Regions from separate parts of the Homo sapiens genome. Here region 1 is linked to region 2. Evidence: promoter capture Hi-C in 16 types of primary human blood cells and fetal thymus (Javierre and others, 2016). All regions are on one chromosome and are shown on one strand. Each heading gives the region's core, a stretch centred on a gene start or on the middle of the fragment in contact. The rest is flanking DNA. Distances are from core to core; before and after follow the strand shown.

Evidence for each region. Contacts are between HindIII fragments. The CHiCAGO score rates a contact against its expected background, and 5 or more counts as called.
Region 1: a fragment that was not itself captured here is called in contact with the fragment with the promoter of TAF4B in region 2 in 2 of 17 cell types (activated CD4 T cells and naive CD8 T cells); the score reaches 5.5 in activated CD4 T cells.

What each region holds. Positions count from the first base shown.
Region 1 is chr18:26,170,968-26,177,717 of GRCh38, forward strand. The region is part of intron 4 of PSMA8 (proteasome 20S subunit alpha 8); the gene reads left to right. It also overlaps the pseudogene DHFRP1. Among named protein-coding and RNA genes, the nearest start is that of PSMA8, 40 kb to the left of the region's middle. The HindIII fragment of the contact is 2,627 bases long and covers 3,493-6,119 here.
Region 2 is chr18:26,224,485-26,231,647 of GRCh38, forward strand. It overlaps TAF4B (TATA-box binding protein associated factor 4b), which reads left to right and starts at 1,961. Exons shown (of 15, transcript NM_005640.3): 1 at 1,961-2,792. The coding sequence starts at 2,450. RefSeq lists enhancers at 1,591-1,660, 1,691-1,790 and a silencer at 2,441-2,600. The HindIII fragment of the contact is 8,704 bases long and covers 1-7,163 here.

The DNA.
Region 1 (6,750 bases), core at 3,556-6,055, 51 kb before region 2:
CTAATTCTGGTTGTTCAGTAAGTTTTAAGGCATCATCTAGACTTCTGGAAAGAAAATGAGCTCCTTGTGGAGGTTCCTTGAGTTCTCTGCTGAGAACTAAATTAATTCTACCCTTTAAAGGTCGATTCTTCTCAGGAATGGAGAACCAGGTCTTCTTACCCATAATCACCAGATTCTGTTTACCTTCTACTGAAGAGGTTGTGGTCATTCTCTGGAAATATCTGAATTCATTCCTGAGCGGTGGCCAGGGCAGGTCCCCGTTCTTGCCGATGCCCATGTTCTGGGACACAGCGACGATGCAGTTTAGCGAACCAACCATGACAGCAGCGGGAGGACCTCCGAGCCCGCTCGTTACAGCAGAACGCGCGGTCAAGTTTGGCGCGAAATTGTCGGTATTTTGTTATGACATACCAAGCAGACTAATATAACGTGTAATGGGCTTATTTTTAAATGAATTAAATTTTTAAAAAATTTTCTGAGTTTCGGCCGGGTGCAGTGGCTCACGCCTGTAATCCCAGCACTTTGGGAGGCCGAAGCGGGTGGATCACTTGAAGTCAGGAGTTTGAGACCAGCCTGGCCAACATGGCGAAACCCCGTCTCTACTAAAAATACCAAAATTAGCCGGGCTTGGTGGCAAATGCCTATAATCCCAGCTACTTGGGAGGCTGAGGCGTGAGAATTGCTTGAACCTGGAAAGTGGTGGTTGTAGTGAGCTGAGATCGTGCCACTGCACTCCAGCCTGGGCAACAGAGTGAGACTCCGTCTCAAAAAAAAAAAAAGTCTTAGTTTCAGTTTCTCATTATTGGGTCTGGAATTTGATTTTACACTACTTACATACTAATAAAATTAGCCTGTTGCTGTTTCATGGATACTGGCAGAAGACACAAGACCCTCTGGGTCAGAAACAAAGACTTTATTACTCATGGCACATCAAACAGCATGAGTATCAGCATATTTGCATAGATTCCCTTTATCCTCAAGACCCACAGAGTTGATGTAATATGGCCTGGTTGAATGCTGTGAACAAAGTTGGTTTGCTTCACAGCTAAGGAACACCAAGCATGGAGAGTCTCCTTGTTTTATAGCAAGCAATAAGGTAGCCTGCCCTTTATCTGAGGAATGACATCTTTATCTCAAGATTACCAGCTGCATAGACAACCCTGAAAAACAGAGCCTTGTCTGACAGCCCAAGGCACATGATATCTCTCAACAATAATACAGTAAATACCAAAAAGTATAACACAAACAAAAGCACTTTGGAGTTCCCAATAATTTTTAAGAGTATAAATTGCTGATCTGTAGCAGGGAACAGAAAACTTCTTATAGGGCCAGATGGTAAATATTTTAGCCATGTAGGCATTGCAGTCTCTGTTGCAACTACTAAACTTTACCATAGTAGCATAAACTAGAAATAGACTGGAAATAGATTTACATAAATAAATGGGCATAGTGATGTACCAATAATTCTTTGTTTACAAAAACAGGGAACTGACTTGCAGGCTATAATTTTCTGACCCCTAGACTATATATAGCATTGGTTTATAGGTATGTAGCAATGTGATACAAACCTTATAGAGGAGGTTTCCTGAGCACAGGGTTAAGCTGCATATGGAAGTAATTGGTCTTAGAGACCAGTTGAGAAGCCATATGCCACTTGGGGTATCCAATCCATTATTATTTAATAATAAATCAATTTAAAAAGTACAGTTACATTCTCTTAAAAAAAAAAGAAAAGCCTCTGTTGGTCACACATTGCTTCCAACTACCACCTCATTTTGCAGCAAACAGCATGCATTTCGTGATGGTGCCAGTTCCTTATGCCTGCCAAGTGCCATTGGTGGCACAGAGGAAGCAGGTGGATATGATGGGTCTTCTTAATAATAGCTAAGAAACCCTGAACTTGGGGAATCTACCACTTTTGTAATAGGCAGTGAACAAGCTTCTTCTTTTTCTGCAGAAAGACGTGACCTTATTCCTCAGGGTTGTTGGCCACTAATACAGTCCTGAGGAATAGCCCCATCAAGAGTGGTCAAGGCCATGCGTTCTTGGCACACCCAGAAAGAATGTGCACTCTAATTGTGAACAGTGTGATTCTGTTAAAATTTAAGTCAGATCAGGTCACCTCTCTGTTCAAAATCCCCTCTTGCCTCCCAAGTAAGTCAGAGTAAAAACCAAAGCCCTTACAGTGGTCTAACCTTATCTGGCCCCCACCTCAACTCTCCAACCCGAAGCTTATTAACTCCTCCGTTGCTTTCCTACTCAGCCACACTGGCCTCTTTACTGTTCTTCAGAGGCCAGATGTGTACTTTCCTCAGGGCTTTTAACTTTTGTTCTTCCTTATTGTTTCCTCTGCCCAGAGCTTGCATGATATCTGCATGGCTACCATCCTCACCCTCTGAGTGAAGCCCCTCCTAACTGGCCTTTCTAGCACTGTAGCCCATTCTCAATGCTCTTTATTTCCTATCCTGGCTTTACTTCTCTCATAACAACTAATGTACTGTTTATTTTACATATTTCCTTGTTTACCTTGTTTATTATCTATCTCTCCCCCACTAAGCTTTAAGGTCTATGAGTGCAGGGATTTTTGTCTACTTTTTTTTTTTTTTGAGATGGAGTTTTGCTCTTGTTGCCCGGGCTGGAGTGCAATGGCACGATCTGGGCTCACTGCAACCTCCACCCCCCAGGTTCAAGCGATTCTCCTGCCTCAGCCTCCCAAGTAGCTGGGATTACAGGCATGTGCCACCACGCCTGGCTAATTTTGTATTTTTAGTAGAGATGGGGTTTCTTCATGTTGGTCAGGCTGGTCTCAAACTCCTGACCTCAGGTGATCCACCTGCCTCGGCCTCCCAAAGTGCTGGGATTACAAGTGTGAGCCATCACGCCCGGCCTTTTGTCTACTTTTTATACTGTTGACACACTAGTGCTTAGAATTGAACCTTATATACAAGGTGGTCATACGTTATTTAACAAATAAATGAATACTAGATAATAACATAATGCTGTCTACTTGATTCTCAGCTAGAAATATTCTCTCCCTTTGAACTTTTGAAGCATTAGTAATTCTTACAGCTTTTTAAAATTGTTTCATTTCTTCTGTTGACAATTTAGTAAGGGAAGTTTGTGTTTTAAGCATTCAAGTTTCATTTTACAGCAAACACTAATCCTATATTTTAGAGTGAAAACGTAATATTTATAGCATTCGGATCATGAAATGATGCTTCTAAATGCCTACTTTGACTATAATCGTATTTTACTGATTTTTCAAAATAATATTTTATAGACATTTAGTGGCAGGAATTGAATATGTTCTTGCTTATTAGTTCTAAGATATTGGTATTTAAGTGTGTATCTAAGAAGTTGTACACATTTTTTAAAATATTCTTCCTTTCACTTACAATATAGCTTGTAGATTTGTAGGAATGCCAGTCTGGCCATTAGCACTCAAATTTTATATTCAAAACTTTGTTTCAGTTTACTGTGTATTTCTTGAAAAGCTTGCATTTTTAAAGTTTTTAAATAAAATTAGCTCATAAAGAACATTGATGAAAACTGGCATCTAATATGCTGTGCATTGAAGTGGTTACTTAATTTAAAAGCTATTCTATACTATTTTAAGGAGACCCACCTGCATAGACTTAAGCCCCACCCTGATTAATGATGTTAATGATTAAGGGGCATGTTTTGCTCTTGTCAGTATGGGCCATAATGTTTCAAAATGGTAAGAATGTTAACTACGTCGTATACTTCTGAGCAATGTTTCTCAAAATGCATTTCTTTTCATGTTAACAGGTATTAGGTAAACAAGCTCTCTAGCTAAGTAATTTTGTTAGCTATTTAAAGAAATTTAGTAAGTTTTGTTACCAAAGTACATCTGGATCTGCTAAAAAGCATTTAAATCTTCTAGAAGCAGGTAAAATAGTAGTCCCCAAGATTACTTGAACGTAGAGCCCTTTGATCATAAATCCTTTCTCTACTCTGATGTTTTGTGGGATTCACTTTGGAAAATGCTGCCATAAAAACTAAGAACCTCAGGGCTGAAAAGACTTTAAAAGCTGTTTAATATAATCCTCCAATTTATTGTTTCTGACAACACTTGACCAGTTTTGCCTTCTGTTGTTTATACTTCAAAATAATGGAAATTGTGATTTATTTATTGTGAGTAGAGTTTTTTGCTCATTTCCACATCTCTTTTTCTTAGTGTGGGAGAGCTCATTGAAGATTTACTCTGGAAGTTAGCAAGCCTTCAGATGAGAAAAGCTGCTTTGCACTTGTTAGCAGAGACCTTGTCCTTCCTTAGGGTCACATAGCCTCATGGGAAGATTATTATTTTATAAGATATTAGGAAGTGCCATTGGTATCAGCATTTGTTGAAGGGAAGGGATCAGGATGGGGCAGAGGGAGACATTGGGCTGCATTGTAGTCGCAATAAAGGCTTCAGTTGACACCATGGAGTGCTCTGGATCTGTAGTGGCTCATCAGAGCTGTTCTAACTTGGGGTGAAGGGACTGCACATTGATACTCTTCGTCACTGAGTCAGTGTAGGCTGGCCCTGGAAGAGCACATGACCTTACCTGAGGGAGCTCTTGTTAACCAGGGAACCTTCCCAAGGGAGTTAAGAGCTGAGGGCTGTCTGCCATTACCACTTCCAGTAGCCACAGGAATAAGGTTTTTGTTTCTGGAGGTGTATGGGGCAGTATGTCACAGGATGCACTTCCGAGGTCTGTCAAGTGAGATTGTTTTTATCTCCTAACAACAAAGACCTGATGATGCTTAACACTTAAGATTGATTTTTCTCACATAATGAAAAGTCTGAAAGTAGGCAGATGCTGGTATTTGTCTCTTTTAGTCTTAGTCTTTTTCCATGCTCTCAAGATAGCTGCTAGACCTCTAGCCAATATGTCTGCATTCTAGGCAGTAAAGGTTCCTAGGAGCTTCACCCAGTGACTTCCACCTGTGTATACCTATTTGTAAGAGAAGCTAGGAAGTGACATTTTTCAGTAGTCACATTGCCTAGAGTTCTGTCACAAAGGAAGAATGGATATTAGGGTTGTCAGCTAATAGTCTTTGCTGCAGAAAATCATCATTAATCTGAGGAGGCAGGTAGGAAAAGCATTGCAAAACTACCAGTCATTATTGAAGTGGACTGGGGTGGGTGATGGGGCAAGGGAGGGTGGGGATCTGAGTGTGGCAAGAACAGGATAGATTTTAGAAAACAAGTCAGGTGGGTAAGAGTTAAAGATTTTGACATTAAGAATTGGAAGAAGTGGATAGGAAAGTCACCAGAAATGTGCAGGGTGACTTTAAAGGCCCAGTGAAGTTTTTGGATAAACCACTACCTGAAGCCACTAACTATGTACTTCCTCTCTGGGTAGCAACTAGTTACCAAAAAACAAACAAACAAACCTAGTAGCAAATAGATTTCAAAGTCATGCCAGGCTGAAGGCTTTACCTTTGATCTTGGTGAAATTTCAAGGCCACAAAATTTAATTTAGAAGTTTCAACAGCTACTTATATTAATCCTCTGAAATATAATGGCATAGAAAAATTATATAAAGTAAAAATAATCTTTTGCTAACCAGAATAGTATATTGTTATATAATGTAATATAAATGGTGTGTTTTCATGTTTATGTCCTAAAATCTCCTTTGAGATCTCTTTCCCATAATCATAATACTAAACAGTTGGCCAGGCACAGTGGCTCACACCTGTAATCTCAGCACTTTGGGAGGCTGAGGCAGGCAGATCACCTGAAGTCGGGAGTTTGAGACCAGCCTGGCCAACAGGGTGAAACCCCATCTCTACTAAAAATAAAAATATTAGCTGGGCATGGTGGCAGACACCTATAATCCCAGCTACTCGGGAGGCTGAGGCAGGAGAATTGCCTGAGCCCAGGAGGCAGAGGTTGCAGTGAAACGAAATCACGCCATTGCACTCCAGCCTGGGCGACAGAGTGAGACAGTCTCAAAAAAGAAAATAATAATAATAATAATACTAAACAGTTATAACTGAGACATTCCCCCATTTAATGCCAGTGAAAGGATAGACCTTTGTGTTTGTTCTTTTTACTCTGTAATCATCCTAGGAAAGGGGCATGTGGCAGCATAGTGTATCAAGTTAAAAGCTTGGCTTGTTGATTCAGACCACGGTTTCAAAGCTTAGCTCTTCTGCTTACTCTCTGCATGATCTTGGCCAAGATTACTTGAGTCAGTAATTCACCAACAGCTGATTTTGTCCCACCTAAAAGACATTTGACAATGTCTTTGACAAGAGATATGTTTGGTTGTCACAACTGGGGTGGGAGTTGCTGCTGGCATTTAGTTTGTGGAGGCAGCTAAAAATCCCACAATACACAGGACAGCCCTCACAACAGAGGATTAGCTGGCCCAAAATGTGAACAGTGATGATATTGAGAAAGCCTATTTTAACCTTTCCAAACCTCCATTTCTACATCCAAGAATTGGGGTTAGTAACAGTACCTATTTAATCATTTTTGTGATGGTTAGATGAGATAATCCATGTAAAATGCCTAACCTAGTGCCTGACACATAAGTGTTCTGTTAATATAAAATTTAAAATCTTATTACCATCAGGAGTACTAATCTGGATATTTAGGCTGAATTAAAAGAATATGCTGCCTTCTACCCATAGCCATGCAGCCAGGAAAATCCATTTGCATTTTTCCTTCATCTGATGAAAATGTGTAAAGAACAAAGAAAAGAGGAAAGGAATAGAAGCCCTTCTTGCTTAAGA
Region 2 (7,163 bases), core at 711-3,210:
CTGATGAGTTTGAATTCCAGCTTCTTGGAAACATTACTCTTTTAACTGCAGTTTTTAAGTTTGTAAAATGAAGCAGTTAGAAAAAGGAAATGCATCTCTTGGTGACCAGCACACAGGAGGTGCTCAATAAATTGAGTTTTTCTCTCCCCAACTCCACTTTGAGGCATTTGCTAGAAGGTAAGTGATCAGGGAATTCACCATAGAAAGGGAGGGTGATTGGTTTAGGTCATGAGATGGATTTAGACTGGTCAAGAAGTGAGAGACAGTAAAGGTAGTAAGTGTGTGGACTTTACTAGATCTTGTGAGTAGATCTTATCTAAACGTGCCGGCACACGTTTACAGAGAGGGGGAAAAGCAGGAGCTGTAACCATCAGGTTGCCTGCTATTTTAGTCCACTCGGGCTTCTATAATGAAATATCATAAACTGGGTAGCTTATAAAAAGAGAAATTCATGTCCCATAATTCCAGAGGTTGGGAAGTTCAAGATCAAGGCAGATGTGGTATCTGATGAGAGTCTACTTTCTAGACAGCAGTCTTTTTACCATAACCTCACTTGCTGGAAGGGGTGAGGGATCTTTCTGAGGTTTCTTTTTTTAAAAAAATTATTTATTTAATGTATTTAACTAACAAATAATAATTGTATGTATTTATGAGGTATCATGTTACATTTGTATGTGTCGTGAAATAATTAAATCAAGTTAACATATTCATCACTTTAACATGATTTGTCCTGAATGGAATCCCATTCATGAGGGCTCCACCCTTATGATCTAATCACCTTTCAAAGGCCCAACCTTCTAATATTATCAACTCCAGCTTTAGCATTTTAACACTCAGTTGGGGGTATAATCCTAGCACTTTGGGAGGCCCAGGCGGGAGCTCAGGAATTGGAGACCAGCCTGGACAATATAACGAGATCCCGTTTTTGCTAGGCATAGTGCCGCTCCCCTGTGGTTCCAGCTACTCGGGAATCTGAGGTAGGAGGGTAGGATGATCACTTGAGCCCAGGAGGTGGAGGCTGCAATGAGCCAATGGTGCCACTGCACTCCAGCCTGGGTGACAGAGTTAGATCCTGTTTCCAAAACAAAACAAAACAAAACAAAACAAAACAAAACACCACAACATTCAGATCATAGCATCTGCCTACTTGTAAAATCGCCTTTCAGTGCAGTGTTGGTTCCTACAAACATACAATATAATGACTTTAGCTTGAAATTAAGGCATCTTCTCTGACTGCATTACAAACAGGCAAGTTTTTTCATATCGATTCACTCAACACCTTTTATTTATCCAGATAATATCTAGGATCACGCTTAATATCTAAGTGCTAGAATCTAATTATATAGATATCAAAAGGCATTAAGTTTTTCAGAAGACAGACATACAATTTTAATGTTTAGAGGTGATAGAGACACCTATAGCAGCACCAAAGAAGAAACGATTTTCCATTTAAGATTTTAGGCAGTTTAACTCTAAAATATGAAAATAGGCACATCTCACAGACTATAAAACTATACGCCATTTTAATTTTTACAATGTCAATTCTAACTGCGAATTTTAGCAACGCTTCAGTGTGAAGACAGCAGAGAAAAACACTGAAAATGCGTGATTGAATTCTTATTGAGTCACTCTTCTCGGAAATCAGTCCTCCCCATTTTCTCCTTAAAAAATAGAATCCTGGAGATAGTCTAGTGCTGGCTTTTCGAGGAACACACTACAGGGGACACAAGGAGAGGAACACGGATGCCGCAGTTTTCCAAGTGCAGCTTGCCCCTCCCACGTGATAGGTTTCTGGCATCGCCCCTCCTTGCTGGCGATTCTGGGGAAGATTTTAACGCTCCCTGGAGCCGTCCCCAGTGACGTCACGGGCGCGGCTCCGCTCCTTGGCCAATCACGCGGCCGGATCCCGGGGAAACCCGGGGCGGTGGCGGCGGCCTGGGCGCGTGCGCGAGGTCTCCGCGTGGCTATATAAACATGGCTGGCGTGGCCGCGCGGCGGGGCCGTGCCAATCGCGCGTAGGGGGCTGTGGGCACTCGGGGTTCGTAGTTTTGAAATTTCTGGCGGGGGAGCAGCTGCGCAGTTAGGCTCGAGGTGTGAGCGACGACCTTCCGGGAGCCGCAAGTCCAGGCTCCCCCGCAGCGGGACCCGAGCCTGAGGCGCAGGGCTGAGGCAGCGCACGTGTGAGCGCCGCTGAGGAAGCTGCGAGAGGTCGGGCGGGTGTCGCTCCGGGGGCAGCCCAGGCTCGCGCGGACGAGAGGAAGGTCCGGGACGCGCGTGTCCTGCCGTGCAGCGGGCGCCCGTCACTGACTTCGCTGCTGCGGCCCCCGCGCCTCTCCCCAGCGATGCTGTGGAACCCGAACCGCACCGGAGTCGGCTGCCGCGCGCCAAGCCTCCCCTCACCTCTGCTCCCGGAACCGCAGCGCCAAAGCTGCCGCTGAGCCCCTGGGGGATGCCCGCCGGCCTCACCGAACCCGCCGGCGCCGCTCCCCCGGCTGCTGTGAGCGCCTCGGGGACCGTGACCATGGCCCCGGCCGGGGCGCTGCCGGTGCGGGTGGAGAGCACTCCGGTGGCCCTGGGCGCCGTGACTAAGGCTCCTGTCAGCGTCTGCGTGGAGCCCACGGCGTCCCAGCCCCTGCGGTCCCCCGTGGGGACCCTGGTGACCAAAGTGGCTCCGGTCAGCGCCCCTCCTAAAGTCAGCAGCGGCCCTAGGCTGCCTGCTCCTCAGATAGTCGCCGTGAAAGCCCCCAACACCACGACAATCCAGTTTCCTGCTAATTTGCAGCTTCCTCCAGGTATGTTGATAACCCTTTCCAGCCTTGTCTGTCGGTCCAGCTGGCGGCGACGGGAAAATTCGCAGCTCCAGATTGCTCCTAAAAAAACTGAGCCACGGGAACATTTCATAATCTTGACTTTACAGTTAACATATTCTTTTTGTGTCATTACTACATAGTTTTTCTTTTCATATTTAAGGAAAGAATCTTTTCACCTAAGTGATACAGTAAAAAGCTACATCAGCGTATTCGGGGGGGCTTTCAGGCACTGGCTCTTAGGTGGAGGAGATAATATAGCCGAAGTTAATTTCCATGTGGAGGATGGACCGGTTTATACCGTGGATTTCCATACGCTTAGATTATGTAGAAGTGCGTTGTACTTATTTTATTAATTATGAATGAATGAATGAACGAATGAGGTATGGTTTCGCTCTGTCGCCCAGTCTGGAGTGCAGTGACACGATCATGGCTCACCGACGTCGAACTCCTGGGCCCAATCGATCCTCCCGCCTCGGCCTCCCAAAGTGCTGGGATTACAGGCGTGAGCCACCGCGTACGGCCTAACAGTGAAGTTCTTGTGTATTACAACTGAAAGAGATTTTTAAATTTAACCAAGTCAGAATCGGTTTACTGCTTTCTAGTACCAAGTACGAATAATGCTGTTCCTGCACAATCTTTAAATGTCTTATGATTCTAACTTTCAATTAGCAGAACCCCTGACTGGGAACACGTGCCACAGTTGACAAACAGATCAGTCATGCAATTGTTACAGTTGCAATTGAAGCCATGTGTCAACGCTACTGTTAATGAGTCTTTCACTACTTTCTATCCTAGGGCTTTTTACTCTATTGGGCTGTATTTCATGGTTTGTATAAAGGTTTTGCTTTGTGATAATTTACATATTGTAAATATGCTGAATGATTTTGGGGTGTTCAGCCTTTCTTTACTGAAAGTCTCTTGGAGTTTGCTTTCTGTTAATTTTGTTTAGCAGTAATTGGAACTCTGAACTGCAAAGATGGTAAAAAAGGGGAAGCATTGATTCAAAAGATTCTATATCCCCTAATAAAATGACAGGGACCCTTTTTGTATCTAATGTTGTAGTTAGTCATACACGTTGTGGATAGATTTCACTTTTTATGAAGTTCTGTTTCAGTTTTATATGGTATACAAGGTATGTAAAATTGTTAAGGCACTGTTACGGCAGTGTGCAGCACCGAATACATTATTTGGCAGTTCTAAATTGTTATTCTGAGTTGTTATTCTGCATATATGTTTATAAAGTAGTTCTGAATGTGTTAGAATGAAATTACCCCCTAATTTGTTAAACTGTAAATCCTGTCTAGTCACTGAAGTTTGTTTATAAATAGTCAAAAAAAAAAAGTATTAAGAAAGAACTGTCTGAGAGGCTAAGGCACGAGAATCGCTTGAACCCGGGAGGTGGAGGTTGCAGTAAGCCAAGATATCTTGCCACTGCACTCCAGCCCAGGCAACAGAGTGAGACTCTGTTCCTCCCCATCCCTCCCCAACCCCCCAAAGAAAGAACTGTCAAGAGTGAAAATTTGCTGGTAAGTGAGAGTGAATCACTTACTGGAGGATTGGGGCCTTATCATGCTAAGCACTTTTAACAAATTATTTATATTCTTTTATTTGTTGGTCATAATAGGTAGGTAGCAAATAAGGAAAGAGGTCTCTAAGAGTAAATAATTTGTCCAATGCCAGGCAACCCATAGGTGTCGGGGGAGTTTTAGCTCAGGTCTGTTTATTCTTTCCACAACGCTATGCTTATTTTTTTACTTGTATGTGTACGGTATGCCTCATTGAGTGTCAGTACTGAAAGGTGATTCAGAGAACTTTAGATTCCAGTCTTTTATTTTATATACCAAGGAACCAAAACTGAAACTTGGCAGAGTTAAAATAATAGCATACTAGGACCATAGTCTAATTATGTTCCTAGCACTGTATTAAAACATTGCATGCTATTTACCTCTGAGAAACCCATACAAAAGAGAGAAAGAAGATAAGTTGTCTTTAGGAATTGGTCGTTATAGAGGAAGTGGGGATTTGCTTTTGGGAATTTTCTGCTGACGTGTGGCAGAAGGGTGTACTAACTACATTTGTGCTCTTATTGGATAGAATAAGATAACCAATAGTTGAAGAATAAAATGGAAACACTGATTAAAGTAACTTTTTAAAAAGGTTATGAATCTTATACTATTTCTTTTATATCTTTCTTTCTTTCTTTTTTTTTTTTTTTTTTCTTTCTCTGAGACGGAGTGTCACTCTGTTGCCCAGGCTGGGGTGCAGTGGCATAATCTCGGCTCACTGCAACCTCCGCCTCCCGGGTTCAAGCAATTCTCCCGTCTCAGCCTCCCGAGTAGCTGGGATTACAGGCACACGCCACCATGCTCGGCTAAATTTTGTATTTTTAGTAGAGATGGGGTTTCACCATGTTGGCCAGGCTGGTCTCGAACTCCTGACCTCAAGTGATCAGCCTGCTTCGGTCTCTCAGAGTGCTGGGATTACAGGCGTTAGCCACTGCGCTGGCCTGAATCTTGTACTATTTCCTTTGCATACCAAGAATTAGCACTTGATTACACAAGGGTGCTTATATATGTCAGTTCTTCATTTTTCAAGATAATGAATACTTTAAGTATTTGATTCTCTTTACTTCAGAGTTTCATCTATGAACAGAACTGGTTTAAAAAAAAAATATATATATATATACACACACACACACACATATACATATATATGCACCACAGGTTTTTCTAGGGAGCAGGAGCTTGAAATAAAAAGAATGCACAAGAGAATATTTGAGGAAATATTAATAAAAGGTTTTCAGTAATTTCTTCAGTCTTTTGTGAACATGTGGGGTTTTAGGCTGAACTGTGGTTCTTCTTGATATTCTTCATCTTGTCTATCACCTGTTTGAGAATGATAAGCAAGGACTTGATTCCTTCTTTTAGGTCATAAACTGGGATAAATTCTGCATGACAGTCATACTGTACAAAAGTGTGAAAGTTACTTATGAAGCAGTGAGGTCCCTTTTCATCAGCCTGTTTTCATGCTGAGACAGGGCATAGAATTTGCATCTCCTTTCCCAACTTCTTGATCCAGTCCTTGGATAAGTTCTTTGTTTCCACTCTGGCTTTATCAAAGGGATACAGTGTACATGATCATCACTTCCACAGTTGTCACAGTGCTGCTGGGCTTTGTGAAATGAGGGGTATTCTTTTCAGTGTTCACCATACACCATCCACTGTTTGATTTTCAGACTGTAGAGTTGGCGTAAAGTGATAGTGGCCATGGCATTACTCTGTCGGTAGTCAGCCCACAGGAGAAAGTGCTGGTGCTCCTCTCCTGCGGATCTTCCTCAAGGTGAGGTTAGGTTCTCCTGTTACGTGTTTCCATTTGGATGCCGTGCTTTCACTCTCATAGTACTCCCACACTTTGTTTTCTTTTTGATTACAAGGTCCTTTTTGATTACAAGTCCCTGCTTCTGTAATCAGGGACTCTATGTCGCTATTATCTATCCTCAGGGCCTAGTGAGTTGTGCACGAAGGCGCTCAAGTATTTGAATGTAGGCATATATGGAGAGAGTAGGGGGCAATAGGGCTGCAGCCCCTAAGGGATTCTGAGGGTCATCACACATATCAGTGTGTTGAGTTTTGATTTCTTTGCTTATTCTACTTACAAAAGCAGTATATGTTCATGTGAAAATCACTAAAATGTAATTTCCTCTTCAAAGTAATTGACAAACTTGTGGTGTGTTGTTTTGCTTTTTTTTTTTTTTTTTTTTTTTTTGATGGATTTTGCCCTTGTTGCCCAGGCTGGAGTGCAATGGTGCAATCTTGGCTCACCACAACCTTTGCCTCCCGGGTTCAAGCGATTGTCCTGTCTCAGCCTCCTGAGTACCTGGGATTACAGGCATGCGCCACCACCCTTGGCTAATTTTTGTTGTATTTTTAGTAGAGATGAGGTTTCTCCATGTTGGTCAGGCTGGTCTTGAACTCCCAGCCTCAGGTGATCCGCCCACCTTGGCCTCCCAAAATGCTGGGATTACAGATGTGAGCCACCCAGCTGCTTGGGGTTTTTTTTTTTTTTTTTTTTTTTTGGAGACAGAGTCTCACTCTGTTGCCCAGGTTGGAGTACAGTGGCATGATCTCAGCTCACTGCAACCTCTGCCTCCTGGGTTCAAGCAATTCTCATGTCTCAGCCTCCAAGTAGCTGAGATTACAGGTGTGTGCCACCACACCAGGCTAATTTTTTTCTTTTTAGTAAAGACAGGGTTTTGCTAAGTTGGCCAGGCTGATCTTTGAACTCCTGGCCTCAAGTGATCTGCTGATCTCAGCCTCCCAAAGTGCTGAGACTGCAGGCATGAGCCACTGTGCC